Linked DNA regions of Homo sapiens: regions 1, 2 and 4 are each linked to region 3. Evidence: promoter capture Hi-C in 16 types of primary human blood cells and fetal thymus (Javierre and others, 2016). All regions are on one chromosome and are shown on one strand. Each heading gives the region's core, a stretch centred on a gene start or on the middle of the fragment in contact. The rest is flanking DNA. Distances are from core to core; before and after follow the strand shown. Region 1 has its middle 21 kb from the start of RASGEF1A. Region 2 overlaps RASGEF1A (RasGEF domain family member 1A). Region 3 holds the start of ZNF487 (zinc finger protein 487). Region 4 holds the start of RASGEF1A (RasGEF domain family member 1A).

Region 1 (3,316 bases), core at 467-2,966, 150 kb after region 3:
TCCCAAATAGCGGGTATTAGAGGCGCCCGCCACCACGACTGGCTAATTTTTGTATTTTAGTAGAGACAGGGCTTCACTATGTTGTCCAGGTTGGTCTCAAACTCCTGGGCTCAAGTGATCCATCCACCTCCTCACAGGTGAGGGGTAGGGGGATTCCAGGCATAAGCCACCGCACTCAGCCTTGCTTTTTTCTCTATCAATCACTTTATTCAACTTTATTGGGTTATTTTAATGTTAGTGTTCCTGTTTTTGAACTAAGATAGTAGTTCATTTATTTTTAATCTTCCTTTTCTCTAATAAACGTATTAAGGCTTCTACATTTTCTGTGGATATTGCTTTGAAACATTTCACAAGTTTAAAAAGTGGAATATTCTGTTCTGTCACCCATTTCTAAGTGGTTGGTAATTTCTATTTGGGTTTTGTTTGTTTGTTTGTTTTAGACAAGGTCTCTCTGTGTTGTCTAGGCTGGAGTGCAGTGGCTATTGTCACACGTGTGATCATTGCATACGACTCCTCCAACTCCTGGGCTCAAGTGATCTTCCTGCCTCAGCCTGCTGTGTAGTTGGGACTATGGTCATGTACTACCAAGCCTGGCTTGTTTTGGTGTTCTTTTAAAAGTTATTTTATTTTATTTTATTTATTTTTTTGAGACAGGGTCTTGCTCTGTCACTCAGGCTGGAGTGCAGTGGCACTGGATTACAGCTCACTGCAGCTTCGACCTCCCTGGCTGAGGCGATCCTCCTTCTTCAGCCTACCAAGTGGCTGGGACCACAGGTGCACACCACCACACTTGGCTACTTTTTAAATTAGTTTTAGTGACAGGGTCTCCCTATGTTGACCAGGCTGGTCTTGAACTCCTGGACTCAAGTGATCCTCCTGCCTCGGCCTCCCAAAGTGCTGGGATTGTAGCTGTGAGCCACTACACCTGGTGATTATTGTAGCTTTGTAGTAAGTTTTCAAATCAGGAATTGTGAGTCATCCAACTTTGTTCTTCTTTTTGAAGATTTTTTTAACTATCCTGGGTTCCTTGAATTTTCATATGAATTTTCAGAACAGCTTGTAACTTTCTGCAGAGAATTCACCTGGGATTCTGATATGGATTCTGTGAACCCAGAGATCTTTAAGAAGTATTGCCGTCTTAACCATATTAAGTCTCCCAATCCATGAATGTGGATGTCTTTCCATTTATTTAAGTGTTCTTTAATTTCTCCCAACTGTGTTTATAGTTTTCAGTGTACAAGTTTTGCACTTCTTTTGTTAAATTTATTCATAAATTTTCAGTCTTTTAATTTTTTTGAGACAGGGTCTTTCTGTGTTGCCCAGGCTGGAGTGCAGTGGTGCCAACACGGATCACTGCAGCCTTAACCTCCTGGGCTTAAGTGAGCCTCCTGCTTCAGCCTCCTGAGAAGCTAATTATGTATATATTTTTTGTAGAGATAGAGTCTTGCTATATTGCCCAGGCTGGTCTCAAACTCCTGGCCTCAAGCCATCCTCCTGCCTTGGCCTCCCAAAGTGCTGGGAGTCACAGTGCCCGGTCAATATTTTATTCTTTCTGATGCCCTTGTGAACAGAATTTGTTATGGGTTGAACTATATCTCCCCAAAATTCATATGCTGAAGTCTCACTTCCTAGTACTTTAGAATGTGACCCTATTCGGAAATAGGGTAACTACAGATGCAAATAATTGACTTAGAATGAGGTCACCCTGGAACAAGGTGGGCCCTAATCCAATGTAACTGGTGTCCTTATTAAAAGGGAAATTTGGACACAGACACAGGCTCAGGCACACAGGGAGAACTGCATGTGGAGCCTGGGGTTTTGCTGCCGCAAGCCAAGGAGCTATCAGAAATAAGGATAGAGGCTTGGGACAGAGCTTTCCCCTACGGCCTTCTGTGAGGGAACCAACCCTGCATCACCTTGGTTTTGGACCTCTGGCCTCCAGAGCTATGAGACAATATATTTGTAAGCTACCCATAAGCTACCCAATTGGTGGCATTTTGTTATGGTGTCCCTCCAAATTATATTGTTTTCTTAATTTGATTTTCAGTTTGTTCATTGCTAGTGTATAGAATATGACCGATTTTTGCATATTCACCTTGCACCTTACAGCCTTGCTGAACTTGCTATTAGCTGTGAGTGTGTGTGTGTGTGTGTGTTCCTTAGTACTTTTTATATTCAAGATTTCATCATCTGCAAACAGAGAGTTTTACCTCTTCCTTTCCAATCTGGATGCTGTCAAGATTTGCAGTGGAATATGTTCTGGCTTCCTATTTACGCACATCTCTCTGTGGATATTAATTATACTTATTCTAAAGTCTTATTCTGTTTGTTGTATTAGCTCTGGGTCCCTGAATGTGTTTTCCATGAGATGTGTTGGTTTCCTCTTTTGTGCTACTTGTCTGCCTTGGGTGTTTAAATTACAGTGACTCACGACTGGGCTCCTCCTCGCCCTTCCACTTCCTGTTTACCGGTGTGACTGTTCTGTTTCTTCTGCCCAAGGCACATGGGGGCAGGGCAAGCCTTGTGGTCAGTTGTGGGCTCACCTGGAGGAGTTTCCTGGAGTGGGGCCACTCTGCTGCCTGGGGTTGCTCCAGACTCCGCCTGGCCTCTGAAGCCCAAATGCCTACACTTCCACCCTGTCCTGGAGCAAGTGAAGGAGGAGGACAGGTGTTGACTCCCAGGTCCTCTCCAGGGTCTCAAAGCCCTCGGAGCCCAGGCCCCTCTGCTGCTTCCTCCCAGAGCCTGCAGCACAGCCCAGGAGTCTCTTTTCGTTGTTACTGTTTTTGTTTGGAGACAGGGTCTCGCTCTGTCACCCAGGCTGAAGTGCAGTGGTGTGAACACAGCTCACTACAGCCTCGACTCCCCGAGCTCAAGTGATCCTCCTGTCTCAGTTTCCTGTGTAGCTGGGACTACAGGTATGCACCATCACACCAGGCTACTTTTTAATTTTTTGTAGAGACAGAGTCTCCCTATGTTGCCCAGGCTGGTTTCGAACCTCTGGGCTCAAGGGATCCTCCTGGCTCAGCCTCCCATTTGTGGCAATACGGGACTAGAAAACTGATCTCACTGGTCTCCCCCTGTCCTCTGTAAAATGGGTAGAACATTCCTCTCTGAAAGGCCAACATGGGAATGAACACAGGGCATGCTTGGGAGGCACCTGTGCACTGAGGTGCATTCAGGTGTCACAGGGTCTCATCAACTCCCTGTGGCCTGGTTGGTCAGTGCCTGTGCCACAGGCCTGTAGGGTCTGTGGGGACTCACCGGAGCAAAGAAGGCCAAGCACCTCCCCGCTCTGGGTTCCAGAGATTCCAACAAG
Region 2 (3,128 bases), core at 294-2,793, 240 kb after region 3:
CTACCGTACAGCCCTGCAGGGGGCCACGCAGAGGTCCCAGATGGCCAACAGCAGCCGTGAAAAGATCGTCATCCCTGTGTTCAACCTCTTCGTTAAGGACATCTACTTCCTGCACAAAATCCATACCAACCACCTGCCCAACGGGCACATTAACTTTAAGGTGAGCTCATCCCAGCACAGGGCAGGCCAGGCGGAAACTGTCTGAGCTACTGGAGCCGCCAGGCATTAGCCCTGGGTCGGGATCTGTGGGTTTCCTGAGCCCTGCCTGAGGTTCACAAGGGCCTTCAAGACTGAAAGCCTCATAGTGGGTCACGGGGTGCTGTTTGACTGCAAGGTATGAGGTGCGCCTGCCGGTACTTCTGGGTGGATGGCCTAGTTGCAGAGCTTGGAGTCACAGGGAATTGTATTTATCCAGGACCGTGGTTCCAGCCTGGCCCTACCAGGGAGAGAGCCCTGTCCACCCCTGTGGGATTGGAGGTCAGGAGGGGTTTAGATAGGAAGGGACTTGAGCAGGGAGGAGGCGGCAGAGAATTCTAGATGGAAGTGAAGAGCCTGCCTCGTGGGCCTGAGGGCACCTGGTGAGGATGGGAGGGTGGGACATAGGTGGCAGGGCAGGTGTAGGTGGCTGTGGGCTGCCGGATGCCTACCTCACACAGGTGAGGTGTGGGCAGGAGCTGGGATCCTTCCGAAGGTCCCAGAGAAGGGACATCATGACACGTTCTGGTTGGCGCCGCTGGGCTGGGTTTGGATGGGGTGCCTGCCTCAGGCTGGAGTTATCAGTGGGGCCTTCTTTGGGTCCCTGCACAGACAGGCAGAGACCCTGCTGCCGGCCTGATGGCCCAGGTGGAGGGCCAGACAGAGTGGCCTTGGGGGACACCTGCTGGCTCTGAGGCTGCATGGCGTGCCACCATGGCCACGGGGTCAGCGTGCAGGGCCACTGTCCCATCTTGCTGGGACCAGTGAAGTGAGCAGGAGGCTGAGGCCAAAACCTACGTCCCCTGCCCTGACCGAGGGTTTGGTGCTTAAGGTGACAGATGAACATCAGTTGGTTTTGCTCCCTTCAGAAATTCTGGGAGATCTCCAGACAGATCCATGAGTTCATGACATGGACACAGGTAGAGTGTCCTTTCGAGAAGGACAAGAAGATTCAGAGTTACCTGCTCACGGCGCCCATCTACAGCGAGGAAGGTGAGGGCTGCCTCCCAACGCAGCATGCCTCCCACCCCACCTGACTCCTTGTCCAGGCCCGGTGCTCTTTGGGGTTGCCCTGGGAGATGGCCTGCTGGCTGCTCCATGCCACACAGGGCTGGCTCTGCTCGCAGGGGCGAGTGTGCATGAGGGTGGGTCATGGGATGGATGGAAGAGAAGGACAAGAGACTCAGTTTCCAGCAGCCACTGGAGAGGGTCACATGGGCTTAGGTCAGGTGCTGCAACACGAGGAACCTTCCTAGAGTCCCCAACAGGCAGCCTGAGAGCCCCGCACAGCAGAGAACTGTGTTCAGCCCAGCCAGAGGTCACTGTCCCCTTGTGCTGGGCTGTACTCCTGAAGGGACAGCTGGGTTCAGGCAGACACTGCATGGGGACACAGGCTCTGAGGGACTTTCCCATCTCTCAGCTCTCTTCGTCGCCTCCTTTGAAAGTGAGGGTCCCGAGAACCACATGGAAAAAGACAGCTGGAAGACCCTCAGGTAGGAGGGCGTCAGGAACATGGGAGTCTGTAAGGAAGAGGGAGGACTCAGGGTGGGCACGAGGGTTACCCTCCTGGAAAGGGAGCCTGGGCACTGCCGCGTCCCTGGTCCAGGGTCCCTGGTGCATGTTTGGTGGGAGGCTGAGGATGGCTTGGACCCAAGCCGCCCTGCTCGGGCCTGAGCACTGCTTGTCCTGTCCCCCTCTAGGACCACCCTTCTGAACAGAGCCTGAGGCGGATGCAGCCCGCGACGCCAGAGGAAGCACGTGCACTAACTGGGTTTAAATTTTGACTGATGTGGGTTGAGATGAGGAGGCCTCACTGGTTGGGGTCCATTTTGTATATAACTTTTATGAGAAAAAAATGGTAATTATTTCACGCATCAACCTTTGGCACTTACAAAGTTTTTTTTGTTTATTTTAAATAACAGGGCAGGGCCCTGCTTTGGGGAGGGGGAGGGGAGAGTATCATGGGAGATGGTATCCATGATAACATCTTATTCTAATGAAATGTAGATTTTTATTTTCTACTTTTGATTATTAACATCTTATGAAAAAAATATTTTAAAAAACCCAGCCAAAACCAACGTGAGCCCTGCCTGCTCGGACGCCTTTCCAGCCAGTGTCTCTGACGTCGGGGTTAGTGCCTTAGAGGGTACTGGGGTCTGGTCTTCCTGCTCTGTGGTTTGGGCTGCGGTGAGTCCCACTCCACCTGGGCGCCTGCCCTCAGGAGCCTGGGCTGCGAGGCTCCATAGGAGGGCTGGTGGCTGGGAGGTCGCGTCCGCACACTTCTGGAAGTGAGCCTTTGAGTACGGGCTGTCCAAAGTTTACATTTTCATTTTCCTTTCAGGGATTTGTGGGGTCAGGGAGGGGCAGGGGGCACCTGGCAGCATATTTTCTGTGACAATGTGTCCAGCAAATCATTCTTCAACTACATTTTAGAAAGGAGGAAATCTAAAATAAGGTAAGGGAGGGAAGCATGGAGTTGTCAGTTTTCTGGGCTGTGACTGAAAGACACACTGAGCTGTGATGAAGAAAAATACATGGCCGACTCCAGGGTGGTGACATTTAGAGCTAGTCTTGAAACCTATCATCTACAGAGGGGAGGGCAGCCAACAGCCCTCTTCCCACCTGGGTAGGCAGCGCCCTAATTGGAATTGGAAACAGAAAATTCGCCAGGCCATACTGCTGGAGCCCATTCAGATAAAACTGCCCAATACTGAGAGGTGTTTTCTACACCCAGCTAGAGGAGCACACTCCATTTTCCCATGTCTGACTTCGTGGTGTGAGCCCTGGGCCCTACTGACCATGGCGCAGGACAGCTGTCCTTCAGAAAGCACACGGTCAATCCACGTGGACCGTCTCCCTCGCAGGAACTCCGCATCCTTGTCCCTCTGCATTCCCAGTTTCCGCAGGAGCCTTGATCAATGGGGAAGCCTGGG
Region 3 (3,039 bases), core at 333-2,832:
ATAATGCTGCTATGAACATGACTGTACAAGTAACTGAGTCCCCGCTTTCATTTCTCTTGGATTCAGACCCAGAAGTGGTACTGCTGGATCATATGGCAATTCTATTTGTTAATTTTTTGAGGGAACTGCCATACTGTTTTCCATAGCTGCTGTACCATTTTACATTCTTACCAACAATACACAAGGGTATATTTCTTAATATATGGGGGCTGGGTGCAGTGGCTCACGCCTGTAATCCCAGCACTTTGGGGGGCTGAGGCAGGTGGATCACCTGAGGTCAATAATTCGAGACCAGCCTGGCCAACAAGGCAAAACCCTGTCTCTACTAAAAATACAAAAATTAGCCGGGTGTGGTGGCACGTGCCTGTAACCCTCGTCACTTGGGAGGCTGAGGCAGGAGAATTGCTTGAAGCCAGGAGGTGGAGGTTTCAGTGAGCCAAAATCACGCCACTGCACTCCAGCCTGGGCGACAGAGGGAGACTCCACCTCAAAATATATATATATATGGAACCTAAGACAAAAGCCTGCACTCACCCCTAATCTGCTAAATTCAAGTTCTCTCCATGATGAGGTTTCAAAAGGAATTAGTGCAAAATGTATTTAAGGATATGACCAGAAAGGAGAAAGAAAAAACAAATGGCTATTACACACACAGCAGAAAAGTAACACTAGGAGGCAAAGGAACTCAATGAAGAAATATTTCGGTGGCAGGCGGTGGTTCAGCCTGTAATCCCCGCACTTTGGAAAGCTAAAGCAGGAGAATCACTTGAGCCCAGGAGTTCAAGACCAGCCTGAGCAACATAGTGATACCCCTGTTTCTATTTATAAATAAATAAATAAATAAATATTTCCAACCAAAGAATACAAACTTAGTAAAGCTAATGAAGGAAGAACACAGTGAAGAGCTGCCGATGTAAGAGAAAAAAAGAAAATTTCCGGAGGAAAAAAGTTCAAAGATTTGCAACTATTTCCTCAGAAGGAACTGGGAAAAGGGAGTTTTGAGTAATAAGGCCTTGTGCAAGTTTCTGACTCTTAAGGATGTGAATGTACTGCCTTAAAAAATAAACTAAAAAGAGCCTCTTTTCTCACCACAACTCAACAATCATGAAGGTATCCTTGCAAGTGTGTGTAGACCTCTCATGCCTCCTAGGTCCAGGGTCACTCGTCCAGGACTCTCCCAATATCCCTGCCCAGAGGAAGCGCTTCCTCAGACTCGGTTCCTTCTGGTTGCCCTTGTCTCGCTTCTCTAGGGTGGGCTGGCCGCTCCCGCACTGGGGTCAAAGATCCTCCGGGTTCTCTCTGCCACGACTCGCCCTGATCCCAAATCCCAGCCCCACGGTCCCCACCCCCAGCGGGCCCAGTCCCCGCTCGATCCTGGGTGTGCGGCCCTCGACCTCAGACCCGGCCCCTGCCCGCCGGCCGCCCCTCACCTCGGCCTCGGAGGCTCCACGCTCCCCCTCTCACAGCCCGCACCTCGGCGGTCTCTCGGAGGAGGGAGGAACCCGAGGTACCTGGTAGTCGTAGCTGAGGAACTTACAGGCTTGTTGACCATCTCACCATGGAAACTGCCGCAGCGCTCCCTGGGCGGGGCCGCCGAGGGGCGGGGCCTGCGCGAATCCCGGGCGCCCGCCAGTCCAGCGCTCCCTGCGCTTCCGGAAGCCTTGCTGCTCCCGCGTGCCTAGCGGGGGCTCGGCCCTATGCCACGGGCATCCCACCCTGCTACCAGCTGCCCTCTTGTCCGCTGGCCGGACTCTTACCCCAGCCTTCTTCAGGAAGACACGGCGCAGTCCGGCTTCCCCACGAAAGCGAAGGTCGCTGGGACCGCGGCTGGGCGTCCGGGGGCGGGGCCGCGACGCCATTGTGACGCGCTCGGAGCAGGGCTGGGCCGAGGACCCCGGGCGCTGGAGGGCAGGCCCTAGCCACTGCTCCTGAGGCCCTGGAGGCAGCTGACGCTTGAGGCCGCTGGGCGCCGCAACGTGAGCCCAAAGGACGCCCCGCTTCAAGACTGGCGCAAGAGGAAAAAATGAAGGTCGTTTTCTGCGGAGGATGTTAGGAGAACGAGAACTGCGGGCCAGAGAACTGACCTAGCTTAAGGAGCGCAGGCAGCCTCTGCCGCCGGCTCTTGGGGAGACACGGAGAGGATGGGGTCCCCGCTCCGCATCAGGTCCTCTGACGCACCCCGGCTTTCCAGGAGGTAGGACTGGCCACAGGCCTCCTTCCCAGGGACAAAGTGCAAAGCAGAGGCTGTCAGCAGCGTGACCTTCGCTGCAGGAGAAATACGCGTCCAGTTCGTTTTCGTCAGAGTTCTGCTACATCAGGCCTGCCGTATTTGCTGTACACAAATCAGCCAACTTCCCAGGCCTGGGTGCGGAGGTATTTGTTAAGCACATGCACACAGTTGGAATTAGCAGCCTCAGGGATCAAAAGTTGTCCTTTTTTTTTTTTTTTTTTTTGGAGACGAAGTTTCGCTCTTGTTGCCCAGGCTGGAGTGCAGTGGCGCGATCTTGGCTCACTGCAACCTCCGCCTCCCGAGTTCAAGTGATTCTCCTACCTCAGGCTCCCGAGTAGCTGGGATTACAGTCGTCCGCCACCACGCCCGGTTAATTTTTTTTGTTTTTAGTAGAGATGGGGTTTCACCATTTTGGCCAGGCTGGTGTCGAACTCTTTTTTTTTTTTTTTTTTTTTTTTTTTGAGACGGAGTCTCGCTCTGTCACCCAGGGTGGAGTGCAGTGGCGCGATCTCAGCTCACTGCAAGCTCCGCCTCCCAGGGTCACGCCATTGTCTTGCCTCAGCCTCCCGAGTAGCTGGGACTACAGGCGCCCGCCACCACGCCCGGCTAATTTTTTGTATTTTTAGTAGAGACGGGGTTTCACCGTGTTAGCCAGGTTGGTCTTGATCTCCTGACCTCGTGATCCGCCCGTCTCGGCCTCCCAAAGTGCTGGGATTACAGGCATGAGCCACCGTGCCCGGCCTGGTGTCGAACTCTTGACCTCAGGTGATCCACTGGCCTCGGCCTCCCAAAGTGGTAGGATTACAGGC
Region 4 (3,184 bases), core at 39-2,538, 170 kb after region 3:
AGAATCCCCCACCCTACAAGCTCCCCTCCCCCTCCCTTCGCTGGCTCCCTCTCCCTGCTGGGCCTCTCTGTGGGATCTGCAGCATCTGACACATGAACTATTTATGTGTATTTTTATTCACTGCCTACTTCCCACAAGAATGCAAACTCCAACCAGACAGAGACATTCACAGCCGAATCCCAGTGCCCCATCTTACACCTGGCATACAGGTGTTCAAGACACAAGGACTAAGTGAGTAAGCAAGGTCCTCAGCCTCTTCAAGGGGTGCTGTGGGGCTCCTCCCCATTTTTTCACACAGACCCCTCCACCTGGGGACATCGTCGCCCCAGACCTGTTTCTCACTGGCCCTCGTCTGACTGCCTGCAAGAGTCACTCTGGGCCACCCTGGGGTCAGGCCACAGGGTGTCCGTTCAAGAGAAGGTGACCCTTCAGAGCGACAGGAAGTTCCAGTGGACGCCAGAAGACCTGTGTCCTGCTTTAGTGGTTCTGAAATCTTTCAAGGTGGCTTTGGAGCCTTGCTCTGCCACTTATAGGCTCTGAGACCCTGCAGGGTAACCGCACTCCCTGTGCATCAGTTTACTAACCTGTCCAATGGGAACAAATCCACCACCGACCTTACAGGGCGATTAAGATGGTTAAGGGGAGTGACCCAAGGGGCCAGGACTTGCCCACAGAAGGGCTTTCACCGTCTGATTCCACTGACAAAAATTTTGCCAGCTCTGCGGGAGTCCCCAGAGGGCCTTTTAAATGCGGTGGCCGCATCGCCTCCTAGCTTGTCTGCTGCCTGATCCTTTTTTTTTTTTTTTTTTTTTTTTTTTTGAGACGGAGTCTCACTCTGTTACCCAGGCTGGAGTGCAGTGGCGCGATCTCGGCTCACTGCAAGCTCCACCTCCCGAGTTTACACCATTCTCCTCCCTCAGCCTCCCGAGTAGCTGGGACTACAGGCGCCCGCCACCACGCCCGGCTAATTTTTTTTTTTGTATTTTTAGTAGAGATGGGGTTTCACCGTGTTAGCCGGGATGGTCTCGATCTCCTGACCTCGTGATCCGCCCGTCTCGGCCTCCCAAAGTGCTGGGATTACAGGCGTGATGCCTTATCCTTTTTAAATGAAAGCCTGGCCGCCCTCTCCCGGCGCCCGCCCTGTCCCAGTGCCCTCTGCTCGAGCCCCGTCCCGCGCCCTACCTCCCCCTGCACCTTTGCCCCGCACCCTCCTCCCTCCGCGTCCCGCGCCCGCCCGCTCCCCCGCTCCCCGCGCTCTCGCGCCCGCTCCGTGCCCGCTCGGCGCTCGCTCCGCGCTCGCTCGTTCGCTCGCTCGCTCGCGCTCCCCGGCGCCGGCTGCGGAGGGAGCTGCTCTGCCCGCAGCTGGCGCAGCGCGGGGGCGGCCGCGGGTGGGCGGGTGCCGCGGGCCCGGGCGCCGAGCATGAGCCGCCGCCGGCGCCGGCCGCGCGCTGCTCGGGGCCCGACTGCGGCGCGAGGGCGGCGCGGGAGCGACGCTGGCCCGGACCGAGGTAGGCAGCGGCCGCGGACCCTCAGTGCCTCGGGGCCCCCGCCCGCGCCTGGGGCCGTGCCCTCCGGTCGCCGGCGCGGGCAGGGCGCGGCGTGCGCGGGCCCGGGGTCCCTCCCGGCGCGGCCGTCGTGGGGCCGGGGCGCGGGCTCCGGGCGCGGGGCGGGGGACGCGCGCGGGGAGGGCGGCCGGGATCCCGGCGCGCGGAGTTGCTGAGAACTCCGCCCCGGGCTGGACGGCGCCAGGACCCCCTGCACCCTCCGCCCCTTCAGGGCACCTGGCGGGCCGGGCCGGGCCGGGCCGGGCGTGGCAGGAGCGCACGCGGCGGGCGGGCGTGGGCACTGCGGGCAGGTTCGCTGCCCGGGGCCTGGCGTGGGGGTGGGGGCTGGGGAATCGGAGGAGCTCAGGGCTGCGCAGTTGGAAGTTTCCATTTGCTCTTCTGCATTCTGGGCCCCGCCGTGGTATCTCACGCCCTTGCTGTTTGGCGAGGAATTGGGGCTTGAGCTCTGCATTTGGGGGAGAGGTCCAGGGCCATGCCAGGTGTCTCCCTCTCCCTGCTGGGCAAGGGTCATTTGAAGGACCACGCTCTCTTTGCCCCAGGCCTTGCCGGCCCCAGGAACGGGGCAGGTGCAGCTGGTTCTGGTCCGAGGGTCGGTGAGTGAGAGGTGGGGGCGGGAGTCCCCTGCTGTGTGTGGAGGGACGCGCTGGCAGGTTCCTGTGCCCTGCATTTCTGGCTGCCTCTGGGTGCTGGACCTGGTGGATATTTACAGAGAGGCCGCTGCCTGCCTCTTGGGAGCCACCTGGGGGCAGAGACCTGGTGGTGGCCGGGGCTCCCTCCCTCCCTGCTCAGAGCAGTGAGCTTCTCCCTGGTTCACCCTCCCCACCACTGCCACTCTTCTCCCACTGTCCTGCGCAGGAAGGGCCCCGATGGCCGTCGGCCGCAGGATCCTGAAACACAGGAGTCAGGCTGGGTGCAGGGGAGCCTCCCAGAGGCCTTGGTTCCCTCTGTCCCCCCAGGGTTCTCCCGCCCCCTCCGGATGCAGTCTTGCCAGCCCAGCCTGTCCACCTCGGTGCCCTGGACTCTAAGCGGCTCTAGGGGGCCTCCAGCCGAAAGGCTACAGGTCTTGATTCGTGAACCACGGGCAGGCTGCAGGCTTCTGAGACTCAGTTTCCCCATCTGTAGACTGACACGGTTTTGATGACCTCTGAGGACATTTCCACCCTGATGTCCAGTGACACTTTGCTTTGGAACCTCAGGACCCCAGCCCAGGAAGGGGAGATCCGGAGCAGGGGGACATGGAGGACCTTGGCTGGATGGCCAGGGACACGTGGGTGGGTTCTCTGCCCCTCCAGCCAGTGTGTGTCCTTAGGGCTGTGGGTGGTAGTGACCCAGCGAGGCGGGTGCAGCAGGCCCACACTCCCTGCTCCTGAGAAGGGCATGAGCTGTGTGGATCCCCCAGGCTCTCTAGTGAAGTAGAGAAGCTGTGTCCTCCTGCACATGCCCCTGGGTTTGTGAACCAAGCAGGTATCCCAGGTGTGCCTTGGCCTGAAGGCCAGCCAGTGAGTTTGTTTTTCTCTGGGAGGCATCTTCGAGCTGCCAGCCGGATGGCTCCCTTCCACCTGGCAAATCGTGGAAATGGAACAGTTCACACAGAGCAGAGGGGTTTTTTGGTGTAACTT

Evidence for each region. Contacts are between HindIII fragments. The CHiCAGO score rates a contact against its expected background, and 5 or more counts as called.
Region 1: a contact is called between a fragment that was not itself captured here and the fragment with the promoter of ZNF487 in region 3, in 4 of 17 cell types (naive CD8 T cells, monocytes, neutrophils and 1 more). The highest score is 6.9, in naive CD8 T cells.
Region 2: a fragment that was not itself captured here is called in contact with the fragment with the promoter of ZNF487 in region 3 in 1 of 17 cell types (neutrophils); the score reaches 5.7 in neutrophils.
Region 4: a contact is called between the fragment with the promoter of RASGEF1A here and the fragment with the promoter of ZNF487 in region 3, in 1 of 17 cell types (neutrophils). The highest score is 8.8, in neutrophils.

What each region holds. Positions count from the first base shown.
Region 1 is chr10:43,286,653-43,289,968 of GRCh38, reverse strand. No RefSeq gene overlaps it. Among named protein-coding and RNA genes, the nearest start is that of RASGEF1A, 21 kb to the right of the region's middle. The HindIII fragment of the contact is 4,272 bases long and covers 1-3,316 here.
Region 2 is chr10:43,195,036-43,198,163 of GRCh38, reverse strand. It overlaps RASGEF1A (RasGEF domain family member 1A), which reads left to right. Exons shown (of 13, transcript NM_145313.4): 10 at 1-160; 11 at 1,065-1,188; 12 at 1,616-1,688; 13 at 1,896-3,128. The coding sequence ends at 1,920. Among named protein-coding and RNA genes, the nearest start is that of CSGALNACT2, 58 kb to the right of the region's middle. The HindIII fragment of the contact is 7,336 bases long and covers 1-3,128 here.
Region 3 is chr10:43,435,654-43,438,692 of GRCh38, reverse strand. ZNF487 (zinc finger protein 487) reads right to left here and starts at 1,582. Exons shown (of 4, transcript NM_001355444.3): 1 at 1,431-1,582. RefSeq lists a silencer at 1,298-1,957 and an enhancer at 2,058-2,127. The HindIII fragment of the contact is 37,036 bases long and covers 1-3,039 here.
Region 4 is chr10:43,265,169-43,268,352 of GRCh38, reverse strand. RASGEF1A (RasGEF domain family member 1A) reads left to right here and starts at 1,288. Exons shown (of 13, transcript NM_145313.4): 1 at 1,288-1,508. RefSeq lists an enhancer at 1,783-2,658. The HindIII fragment of the contact is 10,296 bases long and covers 1-3,184 here.